Linked DNA regions of Homo sapiens: region 1 is linked to region 2. Evidence: promoter capture Hi-C in 16 types of primary human blood cells and fetal thymus (Javierre and others, 2016). All regions are on one chromosome and are shown on one strand. Each heading gives the region's core, a stretch centred on a gene start or on the middle of the fragment in contact. The rest is flanking DNA. Distances are from core to core; before and after follow the strand shown.

Region 1 (4,790 bases), core at 1,019-3,518, 300 kb before region 2:
ATCTTAGCCTGTCAGATTGCTTTTTGCACATGAAACTACTGAGGTGGGATGGTTCAGTGACTTGCCTAAATCGTGCAGGGGGTGAGTGGCAGAGCCCAGACATAAACTTTGGCTCCTTGTCTGTTGCTCTTTCTAGTAAATTGGACTGCTTCCTGCTGTGGGGCACTGAGAAAACCCGTGACACCCAGGGTGCTGAGATGAGCAGGAAGTCACACGAGTCTGGAAGGCCACCTTTTTTAGGTGTAAGTCCTTTCTTCCTGGTGAAGTGCTTGTACATATAGATACTCAGGAAATGTTTATTGACTTGAACAGAGTAATACTGTCAGTGCCTGGTACCTAGTTAGCAGTCCATAAATAGTTACTAAATGAAAGCAGCAGAGCTTTCAAGAGCTTCAACGGAGCTGCCCACAAAAGCTCAGGATGCCTGAAAAGGCCGATGTCTTTTTCTCTACTCCTGGATTGGTAGGTAGGCTCAACCCTCGCATGGTGGTAAGGCCTCCTACATTCTCTGATGGCTCCTGACTTAACCTCCATTCTGGGCTGCAACTAAGATGAATCCTGAGGATACTTCCTACAAACAAGGGCATTGAGCCCAGCAGAGCCTGCTGGGCATCCAGGTTGGCTCATTAGTAGACAGCAAGCAGCTCTTCCTCCTGCCATGGCCCTGCAGCATGCCTGACATGGGAGCCATCCAGTCTCCTCCTGTGATTAACTGGCTGCAGTGTTCAGCAGAGCTCTCAGTCAGGAAGTAGCTGGACTCCAAACCCAGCTTCTTGGAAGCTCCTAATTGGGCTCTACCTGTCAAGAGGTAATAGAGAGAGACTTATTGATATGTTTGAAGTGCAACTTTGTGCTTTTTGATAACTAATAAATAGGATATTGGAACTTTCTTATTTTGCAGCCCAGTCTACAGAAGACATGTGAAAGATATTTATAGCTTTCATAACTGTGATCCTACTCCTTCCTAATTGCCAAGTAGTCCTCCCCACCCCCATCCCCCTTTTTTTTTTTCTGTGAATCATCTAGGACTTAGAGTCATTGCAACTGGCTAGAGAGGGACTTTAATCATCCTGAAGATTCCCAGATAGCTTGGGAGACAATAATATCATGTAAAAGATAGCTGCTTTCTTCCCTTTGGTTTGGGGACTTGGTTAAAGAAATGTTAGTAGATGGACAATATTTAGATTTTATATTCTGTGCCAGTAGTGCTAAGAAAAGATTACTGGCTTCAAGAGTGAGCAGTTCTAGGAGAGCGAGAAACCACAGCTAGGAGCTCCACCAGCCCTTGAAGATGCAGAGACATTTATCCAGTCCAGAGGGATGGGGAGATAACACACTGAGTATGGAATAGTGGTTAAGAGCCCTGGTTTCACAGTTAGGCTAATTCAGTTCAAATTGTACCTCTATTACTCATTAAGGGGTGACATTAGGGAAATCACATGATGTTTGAGCCTCAATTTCTGCATTTGTTTTATTTGGATGATGGTATGTATGTAACTGGGTTATAGCACATTCTAAGAGGGTGTGGGTAGGGATAGGGATGGTGGTATGTACCTCATGGTGTTATAGCACATTCTAAGAGGACAAATCGTAGCAACATTATTTTATATTCTTACTGAGCGTGCAAGCTTAAGCATGTCACTTAACTTCTCTGGGCCTCAGTCTCCTCATTTGAAAGGCATTAGAGCAGACGATGATTCTTTGTGTAAAATGGAGTCCAGTCAGGAGACAAGCCATGCCCATTGTTTTAAAAGAGAAGTTGATACAATTCATTATTAACCAGGAATTAAAGAACTGGAAAGGCAATCAGGGAGCACAAAGGAGCCACAGAGGAAACAGCTGCAGGGGCTGGGAACAGAGTGAAGAAGTTGTGACTATTAAAACTCAGAAACTTGGAGAAGGGGATGCACCTCTTAGCTCAGGTGGGTCCTGATGCCTCTGGGGAGGGGGAAGGAGAGTGGTACAACATGGCTGGTGCTGAGAAAACTGCAATCAGAATCCCTGTGCTGTGGCAACAGACTGCTATAGGAGTTCTAAAGAAGAAACCTTTCTGGGGCCATGCTGACCTAAATGGGAAGCAGGCAGGAAGTAGCCGATGGCGTCTCCCTCCTTTAGGTATCCCTTTAGGACTCCCCACCCCTAGAAAACACCTCAAGAGAGCAGCTGGCAAAGGAGAAATGGGCTGTGCAGGGTCCCATCCCCAGTATCACAAGGCAGAGTGTACAAGAGTGGGCTTGGAGAACATACTGTAATAACTGAGATTCTCAAACGTTCCTTTTAGGTCAGAGACTATGAGTCAGATTCTGAATCCCAAGCAGAGAACTCTGTACGTGGGCTCTTGGGACAGCCAGCATGTATGGTGGAATGAGTTTGAGCGCTGGAGTCAAACAGATCTGGGTTGTAATCTTATCTCTGACTCTTATCAGCTATGGGATGTTGGAGAAGCTACTTTGAATTTCTCTGAACCTCATTTCCTCCTATGTAAAATGATGATACAGTACCAATACCCATCTCATAGGGTTATTGTGATAATTAAACAAGAAGACACGTGAAAAGTGCCAGGTGGGGGTGTCTGGCACATGCACGGCAGCCATTATTATTATGAGGGGTTTTTTCAGTGATATCTGCTGATCAGCTTGCTCCGTTTGTTGGCTGCACACACTGATGTGGGCTGTTTTGTTTCTTCCACTCAGATGTGGTTCGGTGGACTGTGGAGGGGAGCCTGGGCAGCGGGTTGACAGTGGCCAAGGATTCCCATGCCAGCAGGGGCACCGGGGGCAGCATCTGCATGGCTGCTCTTGGCTTCTAGGAAGCGGCACTTCACCCAAAGTAAGCTCGTAGGCTGGTTCCTGAGGAGTGTGTTCAGTGCAGGGCAGGGGAGATGTTCCTACGACTGTGCCAAGCTTGAGCTGCAGTGAGTGGGCTCTTGGATGCCCTTCAAGCCAGAGGCAAGAATTTGATTTCCTAGGCAGAAATTCTGTAAACTAAGAGAATCATCTAGAATCTTTTTTCTCCACTCAACAGAGCTCTTATCCTTTTACTTTTTTTGGGTGAGTTCTTAAGCTAGAAATGATATGGACATACAGACCATTCATATTCTTGGAGGCATTAATAACTGGCTTTTCATTAGGTACCTACTTTGTGCCAACTATTGTACAAGGTCCTTTCTATGCATTATCTCTTATTCTTGAATCCTACAAGGTAAGTTTTAGTTTCCTAACATTCTATTCAAGGAAACCGAGGCACAGAGCTGGGAAATAAACTTGCCCAGGGTTTTCAAATAGTATTAAGTGGAGTCAGGATTAGAACCCAGGTCTGTTGGATTCTAGGCCTTTCTTTTACTCTTAAGCCAGGCTTTTCCCAGTGCTAGTTAAAAGTCGTGCAAATGTAACTTAGACAATGTCTGCATTTGTGGGTCACGCAGTGGTAGATTACCTAGCAGTGTACCCAACATACTTCCTTCCAACTCCCCATTGAAATAACAATTAAAGTGGTTTAAATGGCCTCTATTTAGCAGCCTCCCATCTTTACCCAGTGTCTCAAGAAAATGCCTAAAACACAAAGAAAAAGACAAATACTCGTAACTCAAATGGACAGTTTTGGGTGTGATTTAAATCTGCTATGGAGAATATTTTATTTAGCCAATATTCCAACAATTATTGGGGAGGAAATCTATGTAACCAAAAATGTGTTCTTAACCCAAGACAAGGCAGTCAGCTTTTTATGGTAAAACCATTCACCTAAGAGGTACATCTCTGACAATTTTTTCCCTTTAAATGTCTAAGTAATTTTGCGATTGCTATAAGCATCATAGGTGATAGGATTAAGCAGTGCTATTTCTTAGAAGCTCCTGCACACAGCATGGCCACCCGTCCCCTTCTGACAGATTCACCATAGGCTTAGCTAGAACAGGTTTTGCTAACAAATTCTGCTTGATGTGAGAAAAGCTTCTGAAAATACAGATTTCCAAAAGTTGTAGGAAGAGTGAAGTTGGGTTGAAAAAAACAATTTGCAGACTCTACTTGCTTCACCCTGCATAAAAGAGCAGTATTATTTGCTCAAGAGAAGGTGGGAAATGGCTTGTTCTTGCCCCATTGCCAGCTCCCTGCCTTGGAGGCCTCGGGTCTGTGCTAATATTATGATTCTAAATTTTATTTGGAAAAATTAACAGATGAGAGTAAACAGGGATGTTGTGTGTGTGTGTGTGTGTGTGTGTATGTCAAGGGGGTGGTGGTGGTGGTGAGAAATAGTATGCAAGAGGAGTACTTTCACTATTTGATTTTTTTTTTAAATAGAAAATTAAAGTAATTAGAAGAGTGTATGATTGGGAGAAAAAGACTTGGCAAATAGATTTGGAATAGAATAGATAAGTTTGAAATGGACAAATGGATATGTGTGTAATAAATGCATGGCAAAGCTCAAATATCTGAAAAGAGGAAAGATTATTCAATAAATTGTGCTGCAACAATAGATTAGTATGGAGGGCTGGGTGTGGTGGCTCACGCCTGTAATCCTACCACTTTGTGAGGCCGAGGCAGAAGGATCATTTGAGCTCAGGAGTTTGAGACCAGCCTGGGCAACACAGTAGACCCCATCTCTAAATAAACAAACAAACAAACAAAGTAAATAAATAAAAAATAAAAAATAGATCAATATGGGAAAAATCAAATTATAGCCTCACCTTATCTTATTTTTCAAATTAATTTTAGGTTGTTTAAATAATTCATTGTAAAAGATGAAAGGAAAAAATTTTAAGAAAGGAATTTACGAACCGAAAAGCAATGAATAAA
Region 2 (5,083 bases), core at 1,806-4,305:
GATCTCCAACAATTTTTAAGAATTTGAAGAAGTCTTGGAAGCAAAACTTTTGAGAACTGCTGCTTCAAGCAGTCCTAGTTCCTTTCAGTGGAAAATGTACATGAGAGATCACAACCTAAGAACAAAAGATGCTCATGATTATTGGTTTGCCAATTTCTTTTAGGCCATTATCAACAGGTAGAGCTAAGACAAAATTATATACATTTTTAAAGATAAAATACAATATGAGTTCATACTGATTCTTCCTGTTCACAATTTGACTATAGGATTTTTACTTAAACACATACAATTTATATACATGTCTCCCCATACCAAAAAAGATCAGTTTTTACAACACTCACGTAAACAGTTATTTTCAGTGTCAGATTAACAATACCATGATCAACACCACTATCCTCAATATGATTATTTAAAACAGTTTAAGATTTTTTTTTTTTTTTTTTGAGACGGAGCCTCTCTCTGTCACCCAGGCTGGAGTGCAGTGGCGCGATCTCGGCTCACTGCAAGCTCCGCCTCCCAGGTTCATGCCATTCTCCTGCCTCAGCCTCCCGAGTAGCTAGGACTACAGGCGCCTGCCACCACACCTGGCTAATTTTTGTATTTTTAGTAGAGACGGGGTTTCACTGTGTTAGCTAGGAAGGTCTCGATCTCCTGACCTTGTGATCCACCCGCCTTGGCCTCCCAAAGTGCTGGGATTACAGGCGTGAGCCACCACGCCTGGCCAAGATTTTTTTTAAGTTGTTTTTTTTTTGTTTGTTTTTGCGGGTTGTCTCTCAGTGGATTTACAATAATTCAATGGTTTAAAGTTATAGTTGATCCTTGAAAAAAACAGGTTGAACTTCGAGGGTCCATCATACGTGGATTTTCTTCTGCCTCTGGCACCCCAAGACAGCAAGACCAACCCCTCTCTTTGCCTCCTTATGATTTTCTTAATAACAGTTTATTTTCTCTGGCTTACTTTATTGTAATAATATAGCATATAATACATATACAAAATGTGTGTTAATTGACTGTATGTTATCAGTAAAACTTCTGGTCAAGAGTAGGCTATTAAGTTTTTGGAGAGTCCAAAGTTATATGTGGATGTTTGATTGTGCCAAGTGGAGGGGATTGGCACTACTAACCCTAGCGTTGTTACAAGGGCTATTGTATTTAGAATGATGTGTACCTTTGAGATTATGCCACCAAGTGGACCAATTAAGAGCTACTGGTTTTTACTTGATTTTTATGGACTGCTTTTTGTAAATTTAATTTTGTTTTGTAATGATATTGTTAAAATTAAAACTTTAGAAAAATTAAATTTAGCAGAAATTAATTGAGCAATGACCAATTTGAGAATCAGGCAGCCCTCAGAACCAGAGGAGGTTCAGAAAGTATCGTTCCACAAAGAGGCCAGGCAGCACGCATAGAAAAAAAACAGAAATGAGATACAGAAACAGCTTGATTGGCTACAGGTTGGCCTTTGCCTTATTTGAACATGGGCTGATCAGTTGACCACCTGTGATGATTGGCTGAGACTCAGTTATTTGTTACAGAAGTATATTCCTAAGTTAGGCTGTGAGTTAAATTGCATACTAAGTTGGGTTGCAGTTCATTATATAAGGACTCAAAATACGGAGACATCTTTAAGCTAAATTTAATTTCACAATATGAAATATTTACTTGGTTCTAAAGTCAAATTTATGAAGTAAGATGTTTCCAGAGATGTCTAGATTCTATCCCTGTCTCCTCTATCCTATTTATTTCCTCCACCATAGGTAGCATCTTTAAAAACCTCAATTGTTTTCATTCCCATTATTTTGAAAATTTAAGAAAATATGTATATATATTGAAATTACCACCATCTTTCTCTTTTTGGGTAAAAGCATACTGTACAAATTCCTATCCATTTTTTTTCCACTTTGTAATGTATTCTGGAGATCACACCACAGATGTATATAGAGTTCTTCCTTATTACTTTTGACGATTGTATTAGCATTTCATTGCTTTGTTGTGTGAAAGTTTTTGGGAAGCCACTGTTTTGGACTAGCTTCACGCACTAGGCCCCAGCAGACCAGACCAAACCAGAATGGAGTCGTTTGTGCTAAGTACCACACAATCAAACTGAACTTTGAAATGGGCCAGTTTCCCAAAAAATAGGAAATTCCCTTAAGTCTGAGTCAGTGAAACAAGGAAGTTTCTTCTGCTTTAACCCTAAAAGTAACTTTGAAACGATGAGTCCACTTTTTGTTCGGTTTCTGCTTTCTTCAGCCCCTATTTGCCAATAAAACCAACCGCCTCTGCTCAGCTGATCAGAACACTCATTCTACTTTATAGAATGAGGTGTTTTTTGATTCTAGAATCACGAATAAGAGTCAATTAAGATTTTTAAACTAATTCGTTGTAATGCTGTCTTTTGACTGTTGTACTACAATTTATTCAAGCAGTCCTTTATTTAGGAATTTGGGGGTAATTTCCAATATTTTGGTATTATGAATCGTGCTGAATAGTCGTGCATGCTCTTTCATATTTTCACCACACGTATTTTTGGGTGAAAGCATGAATTCATCTATGCAATTTTGCTAGATATTAAGCTACTCTTTTCACTATTCCTGTACAGATGGAGGGACAGATGAGACAGCTGCCCAGGGCACTTCAGCAGTTACTGGCATAGCTGGGATTTGAACTGGGATGTAACTATTTTCATACACTCTCTAGGTCATTCCAAGGTGGGAGAGGCAAGCAAATAATTTTGAATCTGGCCAGCATATTCACTGAAACATTTATGCTTATCCTTCCTCCTCCCAGCATACAAGTTCTTCCTTAGCAAAACCTCCAGTCCTCTAATTTAGCATACTTTCGTCTAATCTGTCACTTTCCTCAGGCCCCACAACTACGAGTACTCCTTGTCCCCACCCGGTCCTAATTTGGTCGGGTATAGCGGAGGTGGGCGTAGAGAGAACTGGAGGTGGAGACCTTTGTGCATGCCCACACACTGCTTTCCTCGCGAGGAATCTGGGGCCCTTGCAGAGGCGGAACCAGGATGTGACGTAATAACCGCGCGCGGCGCTCGGCGTTCCCGCAAGGTCGCTTTGCAGAGCGGGAGCGCGCTTAAGTAACTAGTCCGTAGTTCGAGGGTGCGCCGTGTCCTTTTGCGTTGGTACCAGCGGCGACATGACGGGGTACACTCCGGATGAGAAACTGCGGCTGCAGCAGCTGCGAGAGCTGAGAAGGCGATGGCTGAAGGACCAGGAGCTGAGCCCTCGGGAGCCGGTGCTGCCCCCACAGAAGATGGGGCCTATGGAGAAATTCTGGAATAAATTTTTGGAGAATAAATCCCCTTGGAGGAAAATGGTGAGTGACAGACCTCTCCGGTCCCCCCCAACACATCCCACTGCTGCCGGCAGCCTGAACACTGAACGTCCGCTCCCTGCAGCCACACCAAGGACTGATAACGCTCAGTGCTCTGGGACACTGGCCAGTCCCGAGAGTCCTCCTGGAGTCTCGGGAGGCAGGAGTCCAGGAATATGTATGGCTTTGAGAGAATCATGCCTTTTACTGTCAAGTACAGTGGACGGGGGCGAATTTTAATACTTAGGTTTTCCAGGACGCTGCACGTTTGGTTCTCTTTTGACTGTAGAAATCTTCCCTCAGAATAATAACCAAGGACTCGCTAGAATTAAAATTCTGTGATTTAAGTATTTGAGGACACTTGTCTGACTTTTAAGTGTGAGGTTCTAGAGACCAAGTAACACAGTATCCAACCACCAGAGGGCACAGCCAGCCCCTAGCTGATAGTACAGCCCCATGTGATCCCCGTAAAAGACAGGGTCCTGTTGGTATGCCTTGTGAGTCACATTCAAGAGCTACCTTTCTAAACTACCGTTCTGTACTTTTAACACAGTGTTTCATTAAAAAAATCGCATTTTGGGCTTTGAAGAAAATCACTCATTCAAGAACTTTATTTTCAAGGCCTCTGGGTATTTTCTTGAGGACTGTTATGGATGATAAACATCTCAGAATTGCTTTCAGTTACCTGCAACACTTACTGATGACAGGATAATAGTAGTAACAATACTACGTAACACACGGGTGCTTGCTGTGTGCTTGGCACTCTACTGGGGGTTTTACATGTGTTACTTCATTTCTTTATTCCTGTAAGGTAGATATTCCTAATCCTCATTTTAAATGTGAAGAAACTGAGGCCTACAAAGCTTCAGTGATTTGCTGGTGGTCAGGGAGCTAGGAATTGAATATGAGTTCATATTGTAATCAACATGTATCTGATTCTTACTGTGCTACAAAGTCTAGTGCAATAGAATTGTTGAAAATTTTTCTGAGAAAGTGATATTGGATACTTATTTATGGTGGTAAAATTCAACTCTTCTCCCACCCTTTGTATCCCTGACATTATCGGAATATTGGCAGTCACTGATTTAAAGTTGACATCCCATCCATCAGCAAGTGATATAAGGAAGTAAATAAATAATAATGTGTCGAAGTTCACCTTACCTTACTTTAATTTATTCTTTTATAATCATATCTGTTATAATTCTTAGATTCTGGATTGTCCCTTCCTTGAATGGATAGGTGTTTTTTAATCAAGTTGGAAGACATGGGAAAGTTCCATTTTTAGTTCTTTTTTAAAATAGTGTTGCAGAGGGCATTTTGGAGTGAGTTTGGGACACCCCATCTTAGTATGTAAAACGTCCTTTTTCCAGCATTGGCGTTGTCAAGGTTGTCTGCCTTATACCTAAAATGATGTGAGTGTCATTGATCAATAAATAAGGGAGATGACTATACCTGAAAAATTCTGTAGGTTTGATTACTCTGGTTAAATACATTAAAATTATTCTTTCATTATTTTGCTATATTTTATCTTTAACAAACTTATAATAAGGATATTTTTGGAAGTCTTTAAAAAATCTATAAATGCCTTGTTATAGTCTTGCAAAATACTGCTTAAGCATTTTGGTCTGGACTTTGTAGGTATCTTCTAGCAGACTCTGCATTTACTAAGAATATTTGAGTAGATGAGGTTACCTACAGACTATAAGAAAATATGTGCCATTTAGAGTTTTGTAAAATAGTCATGGCATTGTTA

The links. Contacts are between HindIII fragments. The CHiCAGO score rates a contact against its expected background, and 5 or more counts as called.
Region 1: a contact is called between a fragment that was not itself captured here and the fragment with the promoter of NDUFB6 in region 2, in 1 of 17 cell types (M2 macrophages). The highest score is 5.2, in M2 macrophages.

What each region holds. Positions count from the first base shown.
Region 1 is chr9:32,871,308-32,876,097 of GRCh38, reverse strand. No RefSeq gene overlaps it. Among named protein-coding and RNA genes, the nearest start is that of TMEM215, 90 kb to the right of the region's middle. The HindIII fragment of the contact is 1,275 bases long and covers 1,631-2,905 here.
Region 2 is chr9:32,571,131-32,576,213 of GRCh38, reverse strand. It overlaps NDUFB6 (NADH:ubiquinone oxidoreductase subunit B6), which reads left to right and starts at 3,055. Exons shown (of 4, transcript NM_002493.5): 1 at 3,055-3,333. The coding sequence starts at 3,154. RefSeq lists enhancers at 2,648-2,697, 2,968-3,507. The HindIII fragment of the contact is 6,496 bases long and covers 1-4,195 here.